Linked DNA regions of Homo sapiens: region 2 is linked to region 1. Evidence: promoter capture Hi-C in human tissues and cell types (Jung and others, 2019). All regions are on one chromosome and are shown on one strand. Each heading gives the region's core, a stretch centred on a gene start or on the middle of the fragment in contact. The rest is flanking DNA. Distances are from core to core; before and after follow the strand shown.

What was found. Contacts are between HindIII fragments. The study calls those that stand out against the background at their distance.
Region 2: a contact is called between a fragment that was not itself captured here and the fragment with the promoter of BANP in region 1, in 1 of the 25 tissues and cell types used here (lymphoblastoid cells).

The regions. Positions count from the first base shown.
Region 1 is chr16:87,948,105-87,953,232 of GRCh38, forward strand. It overlaps BANP (BTG3 associated nuclear protein), which reads left to right and starts at 3,330. Exons shown (of 14, transcript NM_001386991.1): 1 at 3,330-3,411. RefSeq lists enhancers at 2,686-2,995, 3,255-3,897 and silencers at 3,186-3,485, 3,496-3,615, 3,646-3,705, 3,726-3,825. The HindIII fragment of the contact is 14,887 bases long and covers 1-5,128 here.
Region 2 is chr16:88,317,241-88,322,033 of GRCh38, forward strand. It overlaps a transcript of ZNF469 not described here. Among named protein-coding and RNA genes, the nearest start is that of ZNF469, 63 kb to the right of the region's middle. The HindIII fragment of the contact is 9,018 bases long and covers 1-4,793 here.

The DNA of each region.
Region 1 (5,128 bases), core at 2,080-4,579:
GGCCTGAGAGCCTCAGCAACTTGCCCAGGGAAGGCTCAGACTCTAGCCCTGGCCGGGCAAACTCCAAGTCCTCGCACTTAAGAACAACCAGGCTCAGCGTTCCAGCATTCCACTCGGCCTCCTGGGCTTTTCCTGGGCCACCGAGTGCATCGTGTTTACTTTCTCTTTCTCTACCCTAGTGACATTCTCAGAAAGAGGAACCGTCGGAAGGTTCCAGGGTTTTCTTGATGTGGGCATTTCGAGGTGTTGACAAAAGGACCTCTGTGACCTTTACTTATGGCCTAGTGCACACACTTGTAAGTGGCCCCCATATCTGGTGCCACACAGGCCAGAGTGCACTTCCCGCTCCTCTTATAATGCCCTCACTAATGTGACTGTAACTTCATTAACTCCAGGCCAGATTGGATCCTTGTACCGACTGGTGAGTAAGCGAACCTTCACTACAGACAGCTGTCTTTGCTGATGACTAGCTACTTCATTTTTAAAATTACGGTGAATCAACTATATGCCAATATTGAACAATGCCTTCCTTTTTTAGCTTCCTGAGCAGCAAAATAAAAACTAAATCAAAACCATCAAAAATAAAAAAGTGTAGTAGCTCATGCCTGTAACCCTAACACTTTTTGGGAGGCTAAGGCGGTAGGACCGCTTGAGTCCAGGAGTTCAAGACCAGCTTGGACAACATATTGAGACCTCTGACTCTACAAAAAATAAAAAAAAATCAGGCAATGGTGGTGGTGCATGCCTGCAGTCCCAGCTACTCTGGAGGCTCAAGCGAGAAGATCACTTAAGCCCGAGAGGTAGAGGCTGCAGTGAGCTCTGATTGTACCATCGCACTCCAGCCTGGATGGCAGAGCAAGACCCTGATGCAAACAAAACAAAACAAAACAAAACAAAACAAAACAAAACAAAACAAAACAATCACTAACTGCAGCACAATCATAGTTTTGATTGGCTTAATTTCTGATAATGCCTAGTCAGCAGTGGCCTTCAACAAACCTCACTGTAGCTTGTTGGATGGTCACAGATGGATTCACCTTTGCCCACAAGTTCCTCCTCTTGTCCACTCACACCTGTTCATGACGCCGAGCCCAGCATTGCACAAGGCCTGGGGATAGGGGAAGTGCAGCTCCAGACACGGACTTGGGAATGTTTTGAAACAACAGGAACGACATCACCCTAGGTTTGTGTTTTCAAGCCAGATATTCCGGCGTGGATGCTAAGAATTCTTACATGGGCAAGTATTAATATTTGAATGCAGCCGTGATTGAGGTGGAGGTGGAGACAAAAGGCGTGCGTCCCTAGAACATGTTTTGTCCCCACTGCCGGAGGGAATATTCTGTGTCAGCTATCGCACGCACCCTTTCCCTCCATGTGAGTGGACTCCACACTCTAAGCAAGGCGCTCTGGACTGCAAACTCAGCTTGTGCCTCTCTCCAGCCCTGTGGCCTCGCTGGACAATTTTTCTAATCTCTTTGGAGCTGATCTTCATGTTGAAAAAGGACAAGTCCCATCTTCAGATCAACACCTGTCCCAGCGCTGCCATTTTGCCAAGGCTCCTCCTTGGAGTGTTTGTAAGGCACTTTTGCCACGAAGTAACCCAGCCACCAGCCTCAGTGGAACCTCCAAGCCTAATTCTGGAGGAGACTTTAACTCGGTAAGGTTGCCCAAGGTCGCATAGCCCATGACTGCGCTGAATCCTGTTTTTATTATTGGCAAAAGGGAGTTGGGCAGGAAATTCAAGGTAAAGCATTTTGTTTTTCTTTCTTTCTTTTTTTTTTTTTTTTTCTTGAGACGGAGTCTCGTTCTGCTGCCCAGGCTGGAGTCCAGTGGCGCCATCTCGGCTCACTGCAAGCTCCGCCTCCCGGGTTCACGCCATTCTCCCGCCTCAGCCTCCCGAGTAGCTGGGACTACAGGCGCCTGCCACCGCGCCGGGCTAATTTTTTGTATTTTTAGTAGAGACGGGGTTTCACCGTGTTAGCCAGGATGGTCTCGATCTCCTGACCTCGTGATCCACCCGCCTCGGCCTCCCAAAGTGCTGGGATTACAGGCGTGAGCCGCCGCGCCCGGCCAGCATTTTCTTTTTCCCAGTGAAAATAGCTGCCTCGCCCTGTGTTTGGGAGCTCAAAGGCATTCTTGCTCATTGCAAATAATTGAGGAAACAGAGGCGAGTATAAAGAAGAAAATGAAAGGCAAGGTAATCCTAGATTAGCAGAGGGAGATAACCAGGAATGACATTTCTGGGAACTGCGCTATGGTTTGGGAATTTTTTCCTGTGATTACCCACAAACGCACATTTGCACATTTATTCTACGTGTGCACATTCACGTCATCACTTTTTTTTTTTTTGAGACAGAGTCTCGCTCTGTCGCCAGGCTGGAGTGCAGTGGCGCGATCTCGGCTCACTGCAACCTCTGACTCGCGGGCTCAAGCGATTCTCCTGCCTCAGCCTCCCGAGTAGTTGGGATTACAAGGCGCCCGCCACCACGCCCGGCATAATTTTGTATTTTTAGTAGAGACAGGGTTTCGCCATGTTGGCCAGGCTGGTCGCGAACCCTTTACCTCAGGTGTTCCGCCCGCCTTGGCCTCCCACAGGGCTGAGATTACAGGCGTGATCCACCGTGCCCGGCCGCCATCACTTATTTATATTATGTGTTACCTATAGGACTTATCTAAGACCATAATCACTGCCGCGTGTGCTAAGTCCCGCGCGCGTGCACTCAGGCCCCTCTGGATAGACACTGGGGACCCCTGACCACTTATGTCAGGGAAAACGCCACCAAGCGCTCCGGAACCTCAGGGCAGGACCCGCCGCAGCAGCAGGTAGGACCCGCTGGGGGCGCACAGCCCACCTGAGACATCGTAACTACAAGTCCCAGCAACCCTTGGTGCGGGGACAGGACGGGCCACCGGAGTCCGGAGAGACTACAAGTCCCGGCAGGCATGGCCCAGACGCAGGGACTACGAGTCCCCGAATGCATGGCTCCCAGCTTGCGCAGGGCACCCTGGGAGGTGTAGTAGTTGAGGGAGCTAATGCGTATTCATTCCGTCTCAAAGAAGATGCAAATTCCTCAGACCGTCCACTGAGGTGATTGTTCTCACGCAGGCCATGGGCGTGGGCGAAAAACGGGGGGAAAAAAGCCCTGGGAAGCCGGTACCGTCGCGGAAGAAGGCCGCCTGCGCATGCTCACCAGGAGGCCGAGCGGGAAAAGCGCGCGCAGCTGGCCTCACTGCCACAGGGGTGCCCCGCCCCCGGGCCCGCGCGCCCAGTGAGCCTGCGCGGAGGGCGGGGGCCGAGCGTCGCGGGGAGGGGCTCGCGGCGCCTGCGCAGAGCGGCGGCTTCTCTCGCGAGGACGGACGCCATTATCGCATCTCCCCGACAAACACCACGAGAATTCCGCAGCCCACACGGTAATTGCAGCTCCCGCAGCCGGTCGCGCCTCCGCCTCCCCCTTCCCGCGGGGCGAGAGCGAGAGCGAGATCTCCCTCCTCCCTCCTCCTCCCGCCCGCCGGGCCGCCCGCGCCGCAGCCCCGCCGCCGCCAACCGCCCGGGCCGGGCGATCGCCCCCCGGGCCCCGCTCCCCGTCCCCGGCCGCGCCCCGGAAGAGGGGCTCCCGCTTCCTCGCTTCCGCACCCCCGGCCCCACCGCGCCCGGCGTCCGTTGAGCCGCGGCTGCCGCAGCCCGGCCCGGGGGCCTCGCGCTCCCGACCTCTGTCCCGGGCCTCGCCCCGCGGGAAGGACCCGGAGCCACGGCGGGGAGACTGGAAAGGCCTAGAACCGCGCCCGGGCTCCTCTGGGGCCCGAAGTCTCCCAAGGGGGTCGCTCCTGCCAGCCAGGCGGGAGCGACAGGCATCGTTTTTGTGCCTCCTCCGTGGCTGTGGACCGGAGCCCCATAGCCCAGGACTTGCACACGCAAGGGGCGCTCTCGGGGACCGCAGACCTCGGCGACGACCCCAGCCCGTCCCCCGAGGGGCCCCGATGAACGAGGACCTCGGGGTGCCCCCTCCCCAGCACGTTTGTGCGATTTCTGTGATCTAGTCCTTAAGGAAGGTGGCCGTTTTCTTTTTCCCCCCTAGGATGCAGAAAGTAGATGACATTCCATCCACACTGTGTGAGCAAATTGGAGAGATTGCCTTGATAGAGGACTGATGTTTTTCACTGATGAGATGGTAGGGGTTGTCTTGCTATTGGAGAAATACATCATCCCTGAAGAACTGTGAGCAAGTGGAGCGAGTGTGGGCTTTGAAGGGTAGCGAGCTTGCACCCTGACCGGGGAGGGCCCGGGTCACACAGTTGTTGATGTGGAACAGGTAATTGCCCTGTTTGGAGTTGCCTGTTCTGCCCAGGAATGTACTCCAGGGCCTGATGGCGATGCTGGAACTCGCACTACAGTAAATAATTGATAAGAGGAGGCAGTTGTAGGGTTCACTTTTAGCTGGAAGTTCTTAGGGGACAGAAAAATAACTTGGAGTAGTGAGTGGTTCTGAGTAAGCTCAGGAAACGTCAAATAAAAACTGGATCTGGTCATTTAACACGCAGCTCGCAGATATCCAGTGCTAGAAGAAAACACCAAAACGCGGTAAAATTCTGTATGTGGGTCCACTTCCCGTGTCTGGCGATTAAAATAAGAATATATTCTTGCGATGTTGGATTCTGTCATCATTGGCGTTAATATTTTTATTTTTTTGGAGATAGGGTTTCACTCGGTCCCCGAGACTGGAATGCAGTATCGTGATCTTGGCTCACTGCAGCCTCGGCCTCCCTGGCTCAAGTGATCCTCCCACCGCAGCCTCCTGAGTAGCTCGGACCACAGACGCCACCACCCCGGCTAATTTTTGTATTTTTCGTAGAGAGGGGGTTTCGCCTTGTTGTCCAGCCTGGGGCTTTAATCTTTTTAAAAAAGAGCTTCCATTTGTGATTCCACGCTGCGTGGGGGCAGCTCAACATCTCGGGTGCTTCATCATGACCCAGGAGGCAGAGGCTGCGTCCACTTTATAGATGAGGTGACTAGGCCCGCAGACACTAAGGGACTTGCTCAGATTTACAGAGCCAGGGTTCGAATTCAGTCTGTCTGAAGCCTATGTTCTTAAAAAAAAAAGCCCATATATTTAGTATTTTAATCAATATA
Region 2 (4,793 bases), core at 43-2,542, 370 kb after region 1:
GATGAACACCGACTCACATGCCAAAGCCTACTTCAGACACCCTCTTCTCCGTGGAGCCTCCTTCTGCCTTCTCCCCAGGGCAGATGCTCACAGCACCTCACCTGTTCCATTCTTCTGCGGGTGAAACGTGGTCCTAGGGGGACCCTGTGCATTTTCACCTTTGCACGCTGGCCAGGGGCAGGGTGGAGCCTCGGAACCTGGCTGGTGAAGGTTGGAAGAGTTTCGCATCCTCTGAAAACAGAGGTAGGGCCACGGGCCTGTGGTCCAGGAGACCCTTCCCTGGGAGGGGTCTCTCCTGGCATTCTCCCGACCTGGTGCAGATGTAGTCTCCATCGTGCTGAGGCTTGGGTGTTGGGGTTGAGGGGCAGTGCCCGCCGGCAGCCGCCCTGCACAGCTCTCTGGCCGGTGCAGAGGCCTTCTCTTTCCTCACTCTGGCTTCCAGCCACAACTGTCCTCTCAACCACAGGAAGTCCATGTGCAGCTTCCCAGACGCCTTTCCCTTGACCGTGACTTGAGTCCCCAGGAACTTACAGGAACCTTCCAGAAATTCCCTCTTTATCTCCCAAATCCCATCTGGTTCTGTTTAAGGATTCACCATACTTCCTCCTGCTCTCTGCGCCGCTGAACCGGGCCTGTCTCAGAGCTCGGTGTCATCTTTCTCCCTGGGACAGGGGTGAACCTAGGTCTTGAGGGTGATGGTGGGGTGAGGTCCCCGTGCCTTGGCACTCAGAGCATGGCCTTTCCTCCTGCTTCCTCCTCCTGGCCCCAGCCCTGTCCTCTGCTGTCCTTTAATGACAAGTTACTTTTATTGCCACAGAATCTGCCACTGTCCCCATGAGGAGAGGGACCTGCGATCCCTGCCCGTGGCTTGGGCCTCTCAGGTTTGGACAGCCGGTGGCAGCTCCACCCTCTCAGCCCTTCTCTCCCAGATCTTCGGGCCCAGCCTGGGCTGGAGGGAGGCCGCTGGTTCTCCAGGGCGCGTTCCATGGAGCTGCGGCTGTGGCTGTGGGTATACCAACTGCAAAGCCCCCAGTGGGCCCGGGTCTGTTACATTCGGCAGGGGCTGCCCTTTTTAGCCTGGCCCCCTCCAGCCCAGCCTCCTCCTGGAGACGCTGCCCCCCCTTCCTCCTCTCCATGCTCTGTGCCCATTCGGTAAGCGGGGAAGAGCCAGCGGTGTCCTCTGCCCCAGCTGCATCTCAGGATCAGGGGAGGAGCTGGCGGTGTCCTCTGCCCCAGCTGCATCTCAGGATCAGGCAATTCTCCCCCCAGCCCTTTAGCAAGTCAGGGAGACGCGGTGGCCCCTGCCTGCCAAGGGCAGGAGTGGGGTGGGGGATCAAGAAGGGGACCATTTTCTGGGTTCTGTTGCTCATGAAGTAAGAACTCCTGGCGTGTCCCACACCTGGGCTGCCTCCCTCCCTGGCCTGTGCCGTGGGGAGAGGACAGAGCTCAGCCACGGCTGGCTGCTCTGCCAAGGGAGGAGTCTGAGATCTTGGAGCTCGGAGGAGGGGATGCTCCCTTGGAAAGCATGCGAGGGAGGGAGTCTGTGCAGAAGGACCACTGCCAAATCCCGAACAGCGCGTGCAAGGGGGAGAAGCCCCAGCGTCCAGACGGCCATCATGCAAACAGCTTGGCCCTCACGTGGTGACCGTCCTCACCAGGGCAGCAGCATCTTCAGATGTCAGCTGTATGACACCCAGAGATAAACTTGCTTTTGTTTGGGAGCCCAAAAGTCTCATTACCTGGGGGTCAGGACCAGACGGGGCACCCCAGGGCTTTCCTAGCAGGTCATTTTGTATTGCCAGCTGGGGTCAAGAGGGCCTTGGCCACCAGGCTGGGGCAGGATGGGACTCTGCCTCAGGCTTCCGATGCATGCCTTCCCATGACCGGCCACTGTCCTGCGGATTCTGGATTTGGGGTTCGGGCTCCTCACAGACAGATGGAAGAGGGTCTGGGTGTCTGGCTGCCCACACTGTCCCCCTTGGCCTCACCTCCGAGGGGGCCTTGCAGGTGGCCGAGACCTGGACACCTGCCTTTCTGAGGTTCTTCCTCACCAGTGTCGCCTAAACAAATGCACTCAGGCCCCTGACTGAGCCGAAGGGGGCTCCTCGTCTGCAGGGCCAGGAGACTTTCTTGGGCGGAGCCACACAGGAGGTGCAAGGATTGGGCCCCGGGAGGAGGGGGCTGCTCCCCCAGGGAGGAGGAGGCAGTCCGAGGCCTCGGAAGGTGGGGGCCCTCCTGAACAGAGTGAGCACAGGCCCTGCTGATGCGCCCGGGTCCTGCCAATGATCCCTTTTCCATGTGCAGCGCCTCTCAGAGGGGAAGCAGCGGGGCCACTCCCCAGGCTGCCCTCCTAGGGCCTCAGGTAGCCCCCTTGGCTCCCTGCCACCCTTCTCCTCCCCATCCACCATTTCCAGCCCTCCCTAGGAAGCCCCGTCTGTGGGTCGTGCAAACTCGACGCCTTGGGTTTGTGGATGCTGCAGGGAGAATAACAGGACACGCTGAGTGGTCAGGAGCCGGCCCCCAGGCCTCCCTGCAGCCCAGCTTCGCAGCTAGAGGACTCCCCTGCCCTACAGGTGGGACCCTGACTCTGGTGGAGACCAAGCTGCTGGGTGAGGAGCTGGGCCTCAGGCCCCTATCTTCCAAGGAAAGGTTTTCTCCAGTCTCCAAAGCCAGAATGGTGGGCTCCTGACCCTCATGTGGGGTCAGTGAGGGTTTCCTCCCATCTGGCATCTCCCCGGCCTGAAGCCTGACTCCTCGCCACACAGGCCATGATAACAGGCACCCCCCAAATGTCCAACAGCGGGGGATAATTCAAAGCATGGCCAGGCCTCCACTCATGGAGCATTATGCAGCCATTCAAAAGCAGGTGGGACATTTACAGAGCACGGGGGAAGCTGCTTGCCGTGGCAGAAGTTAAACAGGCTGAGTGCCTTGCACGTGTTTACTAAGTGATAATTCCACCCAATTTATATAATCCTAGGGAGACTCGGGGTTTTAAATGTCATCTTCAGAATGTTCCTGCTGATTACACTGCCCTCATGATGGGAAGCCTGCGTTTACTCTAATGGTAATAATTATTGTTAACAGTGAGGCCTTGCGTCTTCATCAGCATTTCTTAAAGGCTGACCACGAGATTCTTTATTCTTTTTTCTTTTTTCTCGGAGACAGAATCTTGCTCTGTCGCCCAGGCTGGAGTGCAATGGCATGATGTGAGCTCACTGCAACCTCTGCCTCACAGGTTCAAGCAATTCTTCTGCCTCAGCCTCCAGAGTAGCCCGGATTACAGGCGCCCACCACCATATCTGGCTAGTTTTTGTATTTTTAGTAGAGACTGGGTTTTACTACGTTGGCCAGGCTGGACTTGAACTCCTGACCTCAAGTGATCTGCCCACCTTTGCCTCACAAAGTGCTGGGATTACAGGTGTGAGCCACCATGCCCAGCCTGACCATGAGATTATTGACAGGTATGTTGGTCTTGAACTTGAACACGTCAGCTGGAGACCCGCAACAGCCTCCTGCACTTATGTCCATGTAGTCTCATTGCTGGTCTTTAGAAAAACAACAAAACAACCCCCAGTGGTTAACCAGCCAGTCAATGCCGAACCCACCCAGCACACGCCCAACACGAGTCCACAGAGGGTGTGAGCTGCCCCCTCAGACTCTGCAAGTGGGAGGAGTTCAGGACGCAGATGCAGTGTCCAGTGCTCGGGAATGAATGAATGAGTGAATGGATAGATGAACAGGCGAATGAGACACCGTGGCTGCCATCCGAGGCTGCCTTTCAGTATGAAATGTTGGGGTCAGGGTGGGGACGTGAGGGCCTTCCTCAGCCAGTCGGTCCCAGGTTGACCAGGCTGCAGAGCGGCCCAGCCTGGCCCGGGGATGCCGCAGGGACCAAGCTCCTCCTGTCCAGGCTGTCCTGGGCGAGGCGCCAAGGGGAAGGTCCTGGGGTGCCCCCCACCTTGGGTTTCCCCCTCGGGATCTTGCTGGGGCAAGTCTGAAATCCGTAGGGCAGGCTGGAAACCCAGGCAGGAGCTGATGCTGCAGCCTTCAGGCAGAATCCACCATCCCAGGGAAACCTTGGTTTTTGCCCGTAAGGCCTTGCCTGATTGGATGCAGTCTTCAAATTCTGCATGTAAGGCCTCACCTGACTGGATGCAGCCCTTGGCATCTGCTCATAAGGCCTCACCTGATTGGATGTGGCCCTTGGCTGCTGTGTTAGGCCTCACCTGATTGGATATGGCTCTCAGAGTCTGCATGTCAGGCCTCACCTGATTGGATGCAGCCCTCGAATTCTGCATGTAAGGCCTCACCTTATTTGATGTGGCCCTCGGATTCTGCTCATAAGGCCTTACCTGATTGGTGTGGCCTCAGATTCTGCATGTAAGACCTCATCTGATTGGATGTGACCCTCGGATTCTGCTCATAAGGCCTCACCTGATTGGTGTGGCCTCAGATTCTGCATGTAAGACCTCATCTGATTGGACATGACCCTTGGCTTCTGCACATGAGGCCTCACCTGTTTGGATGCAGCCCTCGGATTCTGTTGGTAAGGCCTCACCTGATTAGATGCAGCCACCGCCATCCGGAGCATGATCTGCTTCACTTAAGGTCAGCTGATGGCCAAGGCCAGTGCCTCCCCCAAATGCCTTCTTGGCAACACCCAGACAGGTGGGATGGAACCCAGGGCTCAGTGGCCACAGGATGCTGCACCGCTTCTGACATCACTCAACAGCAAAGACCCTAGGACAGGCCCTGGCGAGATCTCTGTGGGATGAGAGGGCCCTGGGCAT